Regions from separate parts of the Homo sapiens genome. Here region 2 is linked to region 1. The links are contacts of gene promoters, found by promoter capture Hi-C in blood cells and fetal thymus (Javierre and others, 2016). All regions are on one chromosome and are shown on one strand. The core of a region is centred on a gene start or on the middle of the fragment in contact, and the rest is flanking DNA. Distances in the headings are between cores, read along the strand shown. Region 1 holds the start of OCRL (OCRL inositol polyphosphate-5-phosphatase). Region 2 overlaps ZNF280C (zinc finger protein 280C).

Region 1 (5,071 bases), core at 788-3,287:
CCCCCACATATACCCCCAACTATACCCCCATAACTTACACAGAATTGGAACACACGACTTCCTTATTAGCTCAACAGAGTTCCAAATCTACTAATCCGAGGGACTAGATTCTGGGCTGTGGTCATCTCAACAATGTAGCTACTCTATTCAATCTTCATGATTTTGTTTTTACATTAGAGGAAACCAAGGCACACAAGTTTTACTGGTTTGCCCAAGGGTCACCTCTCTGTAACCCACTCTAGCCTTTGGAAATGTTAGTGGTGTTCCACTTTTCTGCTGAATTTTGTTTTATTAAATTCTGAATTTAGTTTAGTTTCATTAAACTAGTCTTCCAGGGTTTGATGAAATCCGGGTTTGATGAACTTCCCAGTAGAGCTGACTAAGCAGGACCTATGAAAGAGCTACTTCACAGAATTAGCTGACATCCAGTTAGAGTGGCACCAATAGTCTCAGAGAAGAGCAGGTTGGGCCAGTGGGAATTTCTTCCGTGTAAATCTGACAGCATAGATACAGAGGATCTAAAAGTGGGGACTGAGAAAATTGGTTTTAGGCAGAAGCCAATGTTGGGAGATGGCAAGATTTAAGTGAACAATTTTTAAACTGGGAAGGAATATGATGTCAAGAAGCCAATGAATATCCAAGTGAGGTGTCTTGGGCACACAGGGATAGGGGCCTATGATACGTAATGGTCACCATGGATATTTTTGAGATAAGATATTAGTGACAATAGAGTGAGGTTAGCAGCTATGGTGATAGCTTATCAAAATAATCTTTTGATCAATCAGTCAACAGTATTTACGGAGCTCCTATGGCAGAGAGGAAGGTGACACACTGATAAAATACTGTCATTTCTATCTCTACACATTTCATTACCTTTTCTTTCTAACAGTAAAGTCAGTAAGTGAGGCAGTTTCTGGCCTACACTAAACCATTACTGAATTAATGAATATGCCTTCAACCCAGTGGGATAAGGGGACGGGGAGACTGGAGAAACCAGCTGAATAGGGTTAAGACAAGTCTGTAACGTTAACAATGAAGCATTTCCATAGCACTTTTACTTTTTGGAAGCCACTCTCGCATTTATTTTTCCCCCAGTTATAATTCCAAAGGCTGTAAGGTAAGGCAGTTAATGGTTTTATTAAACTGAAGAGTTAACTTTGGCCCAGAAAGCTTTATTGACTTGCCCAACGTTACACAACACATGTCAGTTGCAGGGGCAGGAACTAAGAACCCAGGCTTCCTGCTTCCCCGCCCATTCAGTCCTTCCACTGAGCCACACTGCCAAGCACAATCCAGAGGCTTGGAAGTTGGGGACAAAGCCCCGAGGTTAGAGAGCACTGGCACTTCACACCTGGACCTGAACCTGTTGCCCGCGTGGCTTCAGTAGGAGGACAGTGGGTGACCCGTCGCGGTTTGGGGTTGGGAGGTAATGGCAGGCTCCCCTCCTCTGTGGGAATCAGGTGGTTACTTACTCATATTGCCCGTTCCTCTGGGCTAGGGTCAGGGCGCAGGGCTCCCGGAGAGGACCCTTCATCTCCATACCCTCGACAGTATGCGGGCGCTAGTCAAGGGTCTCCTTCGGAAGCGCGGTGGGGAGGAGTGGTGCACTGCGGGGCGAAGGGGGTCTTCCACCCCCCCCCCACCGCCGCCCTCCCCCGCCCCGCCCCGCCCTGCTTCGTCTCCCGCGCCGGCCCCCTCCCCCTCTCTGCTCGGCCTCTGGGCCACCCGGTTGCCCCGCCCCACCGTGTTCCGCAGGGCCCCCGACCCCCACCCCCGGCCCTGCGCGGCCTCCCCTCTCCCTTCTCTCCGGCGGATACGGCAAGCGGCTGGGCTCCGACCGGGAGCGGCGGCTCCATCCAGGCGGCCTCCGGGCTCAGCAGGACAGCGGACTGCGGGCCGATCCGACGACACTGGCTCCCGCGTCCCCACACCCACCCACCTCGGCTGCGTGTCGTTTGAGGAACAGCTCCGCGCCGGGCGCCGGGCGCCGGGAGCCGGGAGCGGGGAGCTGGGAGCTGAGAATCTGACCCAAGAGAGAGCGGCGCCTCGCGCCCCCGCCAGTTTTCCAGGCCGCCGCAGATTCCGTCCCCTGCGGTCAAACTGCGGAACTGCAGCGAGAGACCTGACGGACTGGGGGCGTCTCTACCAGGTCCAGCAAGGAATGGGTTTTAAATGCCACCTGTGACATCAAAATTGTTCTGAGGACTTTGAAGGCCACAGAAACAAAACACAGTCATACCTATGGGAGATCTCAAACCTGTTGTGTCAATACGACCCACATCATTCAGTAAAAAAATACATATATATATATATATATATTTCTTAAGGTTATAATGTCCCGTGTTGGTTATCCTACCATTTCCTTTCCTCTTCTTTCTTCCACGCCCTAAATCGGAGAATTCCCCAAAGCCCAGACCTTTGCTCCTCCTCTGCGTCCCCTCCAGTTCACCTCTAACTAGACAATGTCCAAATATATATCCCTGGCCCAGACCTCTTACCTAATAGAGTCCATTGTTAACACATCACTGCGTCACAAAACTAACTCATTATCATTTCACTGGAAAGCCATATATCGTCTTCCCCCTCCTCATCTCTATATCCAATCAGTCAACACACCCTGTTAATATTTTACGTGGAATTACTTTTAGATTCCTTATTTTCTCTCCATTCACACTGCCATAACTTTATTGTAAGCCCTTGTGATAGCCTATCTGGGTTATTGCACTTTTCTTTAAATAAATCCTGTTGGGTTTACTCTTTCCTTTGACATGTTTACTCTGTTGACAGCCATAAAAATATTTTTCCCAAAGTAATTTTTCGATCGTGTTATTCATTTGCTCCAGAATCTATAATACACTAGATATCAAGAGTGACTGTAAATCTGTAGTAATTAAAAGTATGCTGTGGAGATAGACAATCAATGAAACACAATATAAACCCCTCAAACAGACCACACATATACGGAAGGTTGATATGCAGCGTGTGGGACATTTCAAATCAGTGGGGAAAGAATGGATTATCCACTAAGTGGTACTAGGACTACTGCTTATCCATATGGAAAATTATAAAAATTAGACCCCTACCTCAAACCATGGAAGAAAAATCAGTTCCAGGTGGATTAAAGATCTAAATGTGAAAAGCAAAACTTTATAACTTTCAGAAAAAAAAATTGAGTATGAGCTTGGAATATGGAATGAGAATAAGACATTTAGCTACATGAAATTTCAAAATGTATGTACTTTAAGACAATATAAACAAGTTAAAAGACAAACTGGCCTGCACAGTGGCTCATGCCTGTAATCCCAGCACTTTGGGAGGCCGAGGTGGTAGGATCACTTGAGCCCAGGAGTTCAAGACCAGCCTGGGAAACGTGGCAAAACCCTGTCTCTACAAAAACTATAAAAATTAGCTGGATGTGGTGGCAAGTGCTTGCAGTCCCAGCTACTCAGGAGGCTGAGGTGGGAGCATCCCCTTGAGCCAGCGAGGTCACATCTACAGTGAGCTGTGATGGCGCCACTGCACTCCAGCCTGGGTGACAGAGCAAGACCTTGTCTCAAAAAAAAAAAAAAAAAAAAAAGACAAGCTGTCATCACCTTTCGGACATCTCCCACCATTTCCCACCACTCTCCCTAACTAGCTTTGCTTAGTCACACTGACTCCTTGTTGTTGCTAGGACTTGCCAGGCACACTCTTACCTCAGGGCCTTTACACTTGCTGTTCACTCTGCATGCACTCTCACCTCCTTCAGGTCTTTGCTCAAATGTCACTTTCTCACTGAAGCCTTCCTAGACCACTTTATTGAAAATTGTAATTCAACAATCCCCTTCTCCATCACCACACATACATGTTCCCTATCCCTCTTCCCTGCTTATGTATCACTATCTACCACTTCTGTTTTATTTATCAATATTATTGGTCATTTACCTTCACCCGCTAGAATGTTGAGTTCCATGAGTGCAAGGATTTTGTCTGTTTTGATCATAGCTGCATTCTCAGTGCCTAGAACCATTCTTGGAGCCAAGTAGGTGCTAGAAAAATATTGATTAAATGAATGAATGACTTGGTATCCAGGATATATAAGAACTCCTATAAATAAGAAAGAAACCTAATAGAAAAATTGACAAAATATCTGAGTAAGTAATTCATAGTCAAGGAAACCCAGATGGCCAATAAAGACATGAAAAGATGCCTAACTTTATTACTATTCAGGGAAATTGAAAAGTAAAACCACGAGATACCATTTCACAACCATCGGTTTTGTGAAAATTTAAAAAGTCAGACAACCCCAAGTGTTGTTGAAGTTCTAGCAGTGGAACTCTGATTTACGGCTAGAAGGAGTTTAAGTTGGTAGAACTGCTATGAAGAACAATTTGACGATGTCTAATAAAGGCAATACCCCTCAATCTAGAAATTCTATTTCTAGATATAGACACTGGCAAAACTCTACCTTTTATATGCACAAAGAGACATATAAAAGAATGTTCATTGCAGTATTATTTGTAATCTCAAAAATGGAAGCCAAGTAAATGTCAGCAGGTGAATGAATAAATAATGGTGTTCTCGATGAATGAATTTGAGCTATGGGTAGTAACAGCTAAATTTCAAAAATATAATGTTGAGTGAAAAGCAAATTGCAAAACATGTACAGTATACTGTGTATATAAAGTCTGAAAATATCATCTATTGCTTATGGCTACATAGATGAGTAGTACTGTAATAGTATATAAAACATGAAAGGGCATGATCACCAAATTTAAGAGAGGGAGAGGATTGACACTCGGGGGAGGCATACAGAGAATATCAAATATATCTAATATTTATTTCTCAAAACAGAATCTGAAAAGTGATGTTGCAAGATTTGATAGAACTGGGTGGTGGGTACATATATTGGTTCTGTTATTCCATGTACTTTCCTGCACTGAAAATCATTTGCAGTCAATGAAAACGAAAGATAAAGAAGGAATATGCAGGGGAGGTTAGCAGTATCAAATGCTGAAAATAGGACAAGAAAATGAGGGCCAAAGAGACTTTCTTTGGACGTGTCAAGGAGTTCACTGGAGACCAATAATTG
Region 2 (5,071 bases), core at 1,643-4,142, 660 kb before region 1:
GGAAATTTCTAATAAATAACTTCATATAAAAGCTATCATATAACTATAGGAGCATTGCTTTGCTCCTAGTTCCGTGGAGCCTGATTGCTTGACCTGCAGACTGAAAGCTTTATCTGCTGAGCACATCTTGTACTTTTTCCTCCAGCACAGTTAAAAGCAAACTATTTACACTTTACTAATTTCTTGAGCAGCTAGCAAAAGCCCCCTTTGTGATCTTAATAGTCATGAAGGTGGGCAGGCTCTGAAGTCATTTGACTCAATATGGGTGTTTTTTAACTCCAAAATTAGAACTGGACCAGGTACAATGTCTCATGCCAGTAATCCCCAATACTTTGAGAGGCTGAGGTGGGAGCCAGGAGTTTAAGACCAGCCTGGGCAACATAGCAACACTCTGTCCCTACCACAAAAAAAAAAAAAAAAAAAAGCTGGGTGTGGTGGCATATGCCTGTAGTCCTAGCTACTCAGGAGGCTGAGGCAGGAGGATCGCTTGAGCCCAGAAGTTCGAGGCTGCAGTGAACTATGATCATGCCACTGCATTCCAGCCTAAGCCACAAAGCAAGACCCTGCTTTAAAAAAAAAAAGAAAATTAAAACTGCTTTGATATACTTTGAAACACTGAAAGCCAGTGTCATTGGCCACTGCTATGTAGTATACTCCTTGCAATTCATAGTCAGGAGTTGAATCCATTAATTTTAATTTTCCAAACAGATTTCTGCTCTAAATGATTTTCCCAAATCTCCAAAAGGGGCTTATGTCATAGTCGTGGACTTGGTAATCCTTTTCTTTCCATACCTTTCTCTAGGATGTTTTGTCAAACACCATTTTTCTACCCATTTTTTTTTTACTTTTTTTATTATGGTAAAATGTATGAAATTTGCCATTTAAAATCATTTTCATTCAGCAGCATTAATGACACCCAACTTTAAGTTTTAAACTTTTTCCCAGAAATAACAACTTATTTGCATTTTTAGCATTGGTCTTCTTTTTATTTACAGATATTTTCTCTGTCTCTATCACAGTTCAAAAATACAGAAAACCACATTCTTGCTATAGCAGTATTTTAGGTAGAGGTACAGTTTTGTGTTCTTCCATAGGATTCTGTTTCTTATACTATGTATCAAGTTATTTTAAAGTTTAATGCTCTGGAAGTTATGTGTCCCATAGCATCACTTTTTTTAAACTTTGTTTAAATAAAACTATTTATGCAGTCAGTACTAAGCTTACTTGTTATAAGCAGTTGAGTTTTAATAGGTGTTAGTGAGTTTTAGCTTGACAATCTGATCCCTCTTCACCTTCAGACTGTTAGTTATTTCACCTGATTCAGAAATAGCCATGTCATGCATGTGTCCTTTTTTGTTTTCAACTGAATAAAAGGTATGGTTGGCTCAGTTTCAGTCCATCACTATTATTATTTTTTAAAAAAACACTAAATGACAAAGACTTAGATTCTTGCCCTTCTTTGTGTCACATTTTGGCAAAACACCTCTTTCAGTCTTTTTTCTTTTTTTTTTTTTTTTGAGACGGAGTCTCGCTCTGTCGCCTAGGCTGGAGTGCAATGGGGCGATCTCAGCTCACTGCAAGCTCTGCCTCCCGGGTTCACACCATTCTGCCTCAGCCTCCCGAGTAGCTGGGACTACAGGCGCCTGCCACCACGCCCAGCTAATTTTTTGTATTTTTAGTAGAGACTGGGTTTCACCAGGATGGTCTCGATCTCCTGACCTTGTGATCCGCCCGCGTCGGTCTCCCAAAGTGCTGGGATTACAGGCTTGAGCCACTGCGCCCAGCCTCTCAGTCTCATTTATTCGGTAAATATTACCTACTATGTGCCTGGCACTGTTGTAGTTGTTGGAAATACAAACTGAAATCTCTGCCTTCATGGGACTTAAATTTCTGTGTTGGGAGACAGACAATAGAAAGTAAATAACGTATAGTATGTTAATGGTGATGAAGTCTACGGAGGAAAATAAGGGAGATAGCAACATACAGGTTGGTGGTTGAGAGGTTGCCGTTTTAAATTTGATGGTCAAGTTGGGCCTCCTTGAGAAGATGGCATTTGAGTAAAGACCTGAAGGAGGTGAGGAAGTGAGCCACCTGGGTATCTGTCAGAGGAGCTTTCTAGAGAGGGGAAACAAGTGCAAAAGCCCTGAGGCAGAAATTGGAACCCTCATGTATTGCTGGTGGCAGTGTAAAATGGTCCAGCCACTATGAAAAACAGTTTGGCAGTTCCTCAAAAAGGTTAAGTGTAGAATTACCATATGACCCGGCAGTTTCACTCCAAAGAATCCAAAGCAGAGACTCAGATACTTGTATATGCATGTTCATAGCAGCACTATTCACAATAGCCAAAAGATAGAAATTGCCTAAATGTCACCCACAGATAAAGGGATAAATAAATTATGGTGTGTTGCCGGGCGCGGTGGTTCATCCCTGTAATTCCAGCACTTTGGGAGGCCGAGGCAGGTGGATCACCTGAGATCAGGAGTTTGAGACCAGCCTGTGCAACATGGCAAAACGCCGTCACTACTAAAAATACAAAAATTAGCTGGGTGTGGTGGTGGGTGCCTGAAGTCCCAGCTACTGGGGAGGCTGAGGCACAAGAATCACTTGAACCTGGGAGGCAGAGGTTGCAGTGAGCTGAGATCACACCACTGCACTCCAGCCTGGGTGACAAAGCAAGACTCTGTCTCAAAAGTTATGGTGTGTCCATACAACGGAATATTTTTCAGCCACAAAAAAGAACAAAGTGCTGATACTTGCTACAGTGTGTATGGACCTCTTAAACATTATGTTAAGTGAAAGAAAACAGTCATAAAAGGTCATATGTTGTGTGATTCCGTTTATATGAAATATCCACGCAGGAACAGAAAACCAAATACCACATGTTCTCAGAGCTAAAAATGAGAACTCATGAACACAAGGGAACAACAACAGACACTATTGAGGGTGTTCATGAACCACTTGTAAGGTGGAACATGTAACGAGGCTAGCAATAATCATTTTCATGTCAGGCGTGGCAGCTCATGCATGTAATTCCAGCACTTTGGGAGGCCGCGGCGGGTGGATCATGAGGCCAGGAGTTTGAGACCAGCCTGGCCAACATGGCGAAAACCTGTCTCTACCAAAAAATACAAAAATTAGCCTGGTGTGGTGGCACACGCTTGTAATCCCAGCTCCTTGGGAGGCTGAGGCAGGAGAATCACTTGAACCCGGGAGGCGGAGGTTGCAGTGAGCCAAGGTCGCACCACTGCACTCCAGCCTGGGTGACAGAGTGAGACTCCATCAAAAAAAAGAAAAAACACTTGGCACAAAGCTAAAGTAATCAGAACAGTGTGGTCCTGCCACAGGGTAGAAAAAGAGAAGTGGAATAGAATGAGAGTCCAGAAATAAACCCACACACTGCACTCAAGGGTGGCAGAGCAAGGCTCTCAAAAAATCATTTTCATATTTTTGGAAATTATATCAGGAAAAATAGTATGGTCATTGTGTTCATAAAATCTAAGGAATACATAACGGACAGTCACTTTACATGATTTCAAACTCGAGAAGTTTCAGACTTAATCGTATCTAGCTTCTCTGTAACTCATGCTTGGCTTATTAATCTACCTACTTTTCTTGGAACTATTACTATTTTCAGCCTATTATCCATTAACGAGTTTCTTACTCTGTAAAGTCTTACTTCCTGTTTAAACAGCTTCAAGAGAGTGTCTTAATACTAGGATTACAAGGTCCAAGATTCAATACCTGACTCTGCAGTAAACCCTCTCTGCACCCTTACAGGTGCAGTGCAGTGGAGTGGTTAGAGCCCAGGCTCTGCAGCAGACTGCCTAGGTTGGAATTCCTCCCCTACCAGTGATTAGATTTGTGTGTGTGACTTTAGGCTCTGTGTCTCATTTTCCTTATTTGTAAATTGCATGTAACAGCATCTACTCAGAATTGAGGGAATTAATTGAGTTAATACAGTATATGTATATCCCACTTAGAACAGTGATTGGCACACAGGAATGCAATCCAACATTGTTACGATTATTGCTACATTGTGACTACCTTTCCTGATTTTATTTGTCTTAATTTTATTCAGATAGAAATAGTTCGAATCTTCACCCAGTTTTTCATTCCAGCCTCCTCACACCACCTTCACAATCAATGACTATTAACTCTCTTTTCCTAACCCAGTGGCTTTCTTGAGGGTCACTGTTGAAGCACATAGTACTAAAGATAAGCATACCATTATATTTCTTGGTTTCTCAAGCTCACCAGACTAATATTTTTAAGGAATGTCTATCAATGCTCCTGGGTTCACTTTAGTCGTAATTGTCATTTATAAATATTAGGTTAGTGCCAAAGTAATCACGGTTTTTCCCATTACTTTCAATGGCAAAAACCGCAATTACTTTTGCACCAATCTAATAGTATTAAGATATTTCCCCTATATTATGCTACCTTATACTTGGCCACACCATAGTTCACCTCATGCTCATACTCATATACCTCTCTTCTCTGATTTTGAAACCCTTCTGCAGTTTGATTCTTGTCAGTTTGGTATTTGACCACCTGAAAAAGCTTAATATCATCAACAAACTTGGAGAGGCTGCTGTGCATGACTTCTACTGTTTCTAATCCTCCACACTGAAAAATATCTGTTTGTCCATACCACTGTGATATTCGGTGGCTGGGGGGGCTGCTGAAGAGAGTGTAGCCTCGAAATAACAGTCCTAGGTTTCAATCCTGGTTTTGTATCTGAACAGCTGTGTAGCCTTGAGTAAATTACCTGAACTTGTTCAGTCTCAGCTTCCTCATCAGTGAGAGGCATGTAATGGTGATATTCTTGCAAAGTTGTAAGGAATATATATACACAAACGCTCCTCAACTTACAATGGGGTTGCATTATGACATACCCATCCTAAATTGAAAATATCATAACTTGAAAATGCATTTAACACACCTAACTTACCTAACATCGTAGCTTAGCCTAGCCTACCTCGAATGTGCTCAGAACACTTACATTAGCCTACAGTTGGGCAAACTCTACTGGCAACACAGTACAATGTGTTTTTGGTTGTTTACCCCTTGT

The links. The method cuts DNA at HindIII sites, captures the fragments that hold promoters and counts their contacts. A CHiCAGO score of 5 or more calls a contact.
Region 2: a fragment that was not itself captured here is called in contact with the fragment with the promoter of OCRL in region 1 in 6 of 17 cell types (M1 macrophages, M0 macrophages, monocytes and 3 more); the score reaches 6.6 in M1 macrophages.

Annotation. Positions count from the first base shown.
Region 1 is chrX:129,537,225-129,542,295 of GRCh38, reverse strand. OCRL (OCRL inositol polyphosphate-5-phosphatase) reads right to left here and starts at 2,037. Exons shown (of 24, transcript NM_000276.4): 1 at 1,818-2,037; 2 at 1,473-1,552. The coding sequence starts at 1,856. RefSeq lists silencers at 1,824-2,023, 2,134-2,193 and an enhancer at 1,910-2,204. The HindIII fragment of the contact is 8,325 bases long and covers 1,173-5,071 here.
Region 2 is chrX:130,197,671-130,202,741 of GRCh38, reverse strand. It overlaps ZNF280C (zinc finger protein 280C), which reads left to right. Exons shown (of 19, transcript NM_017666.5): 19 at 1-35. Among named protein-coding and RNA genes, the nearest start is that of RAB33A, 28 kb to the right of the region's middle. The HindIII fragment of the contact is 3,341 bases long and covers 1,222-4,562 here.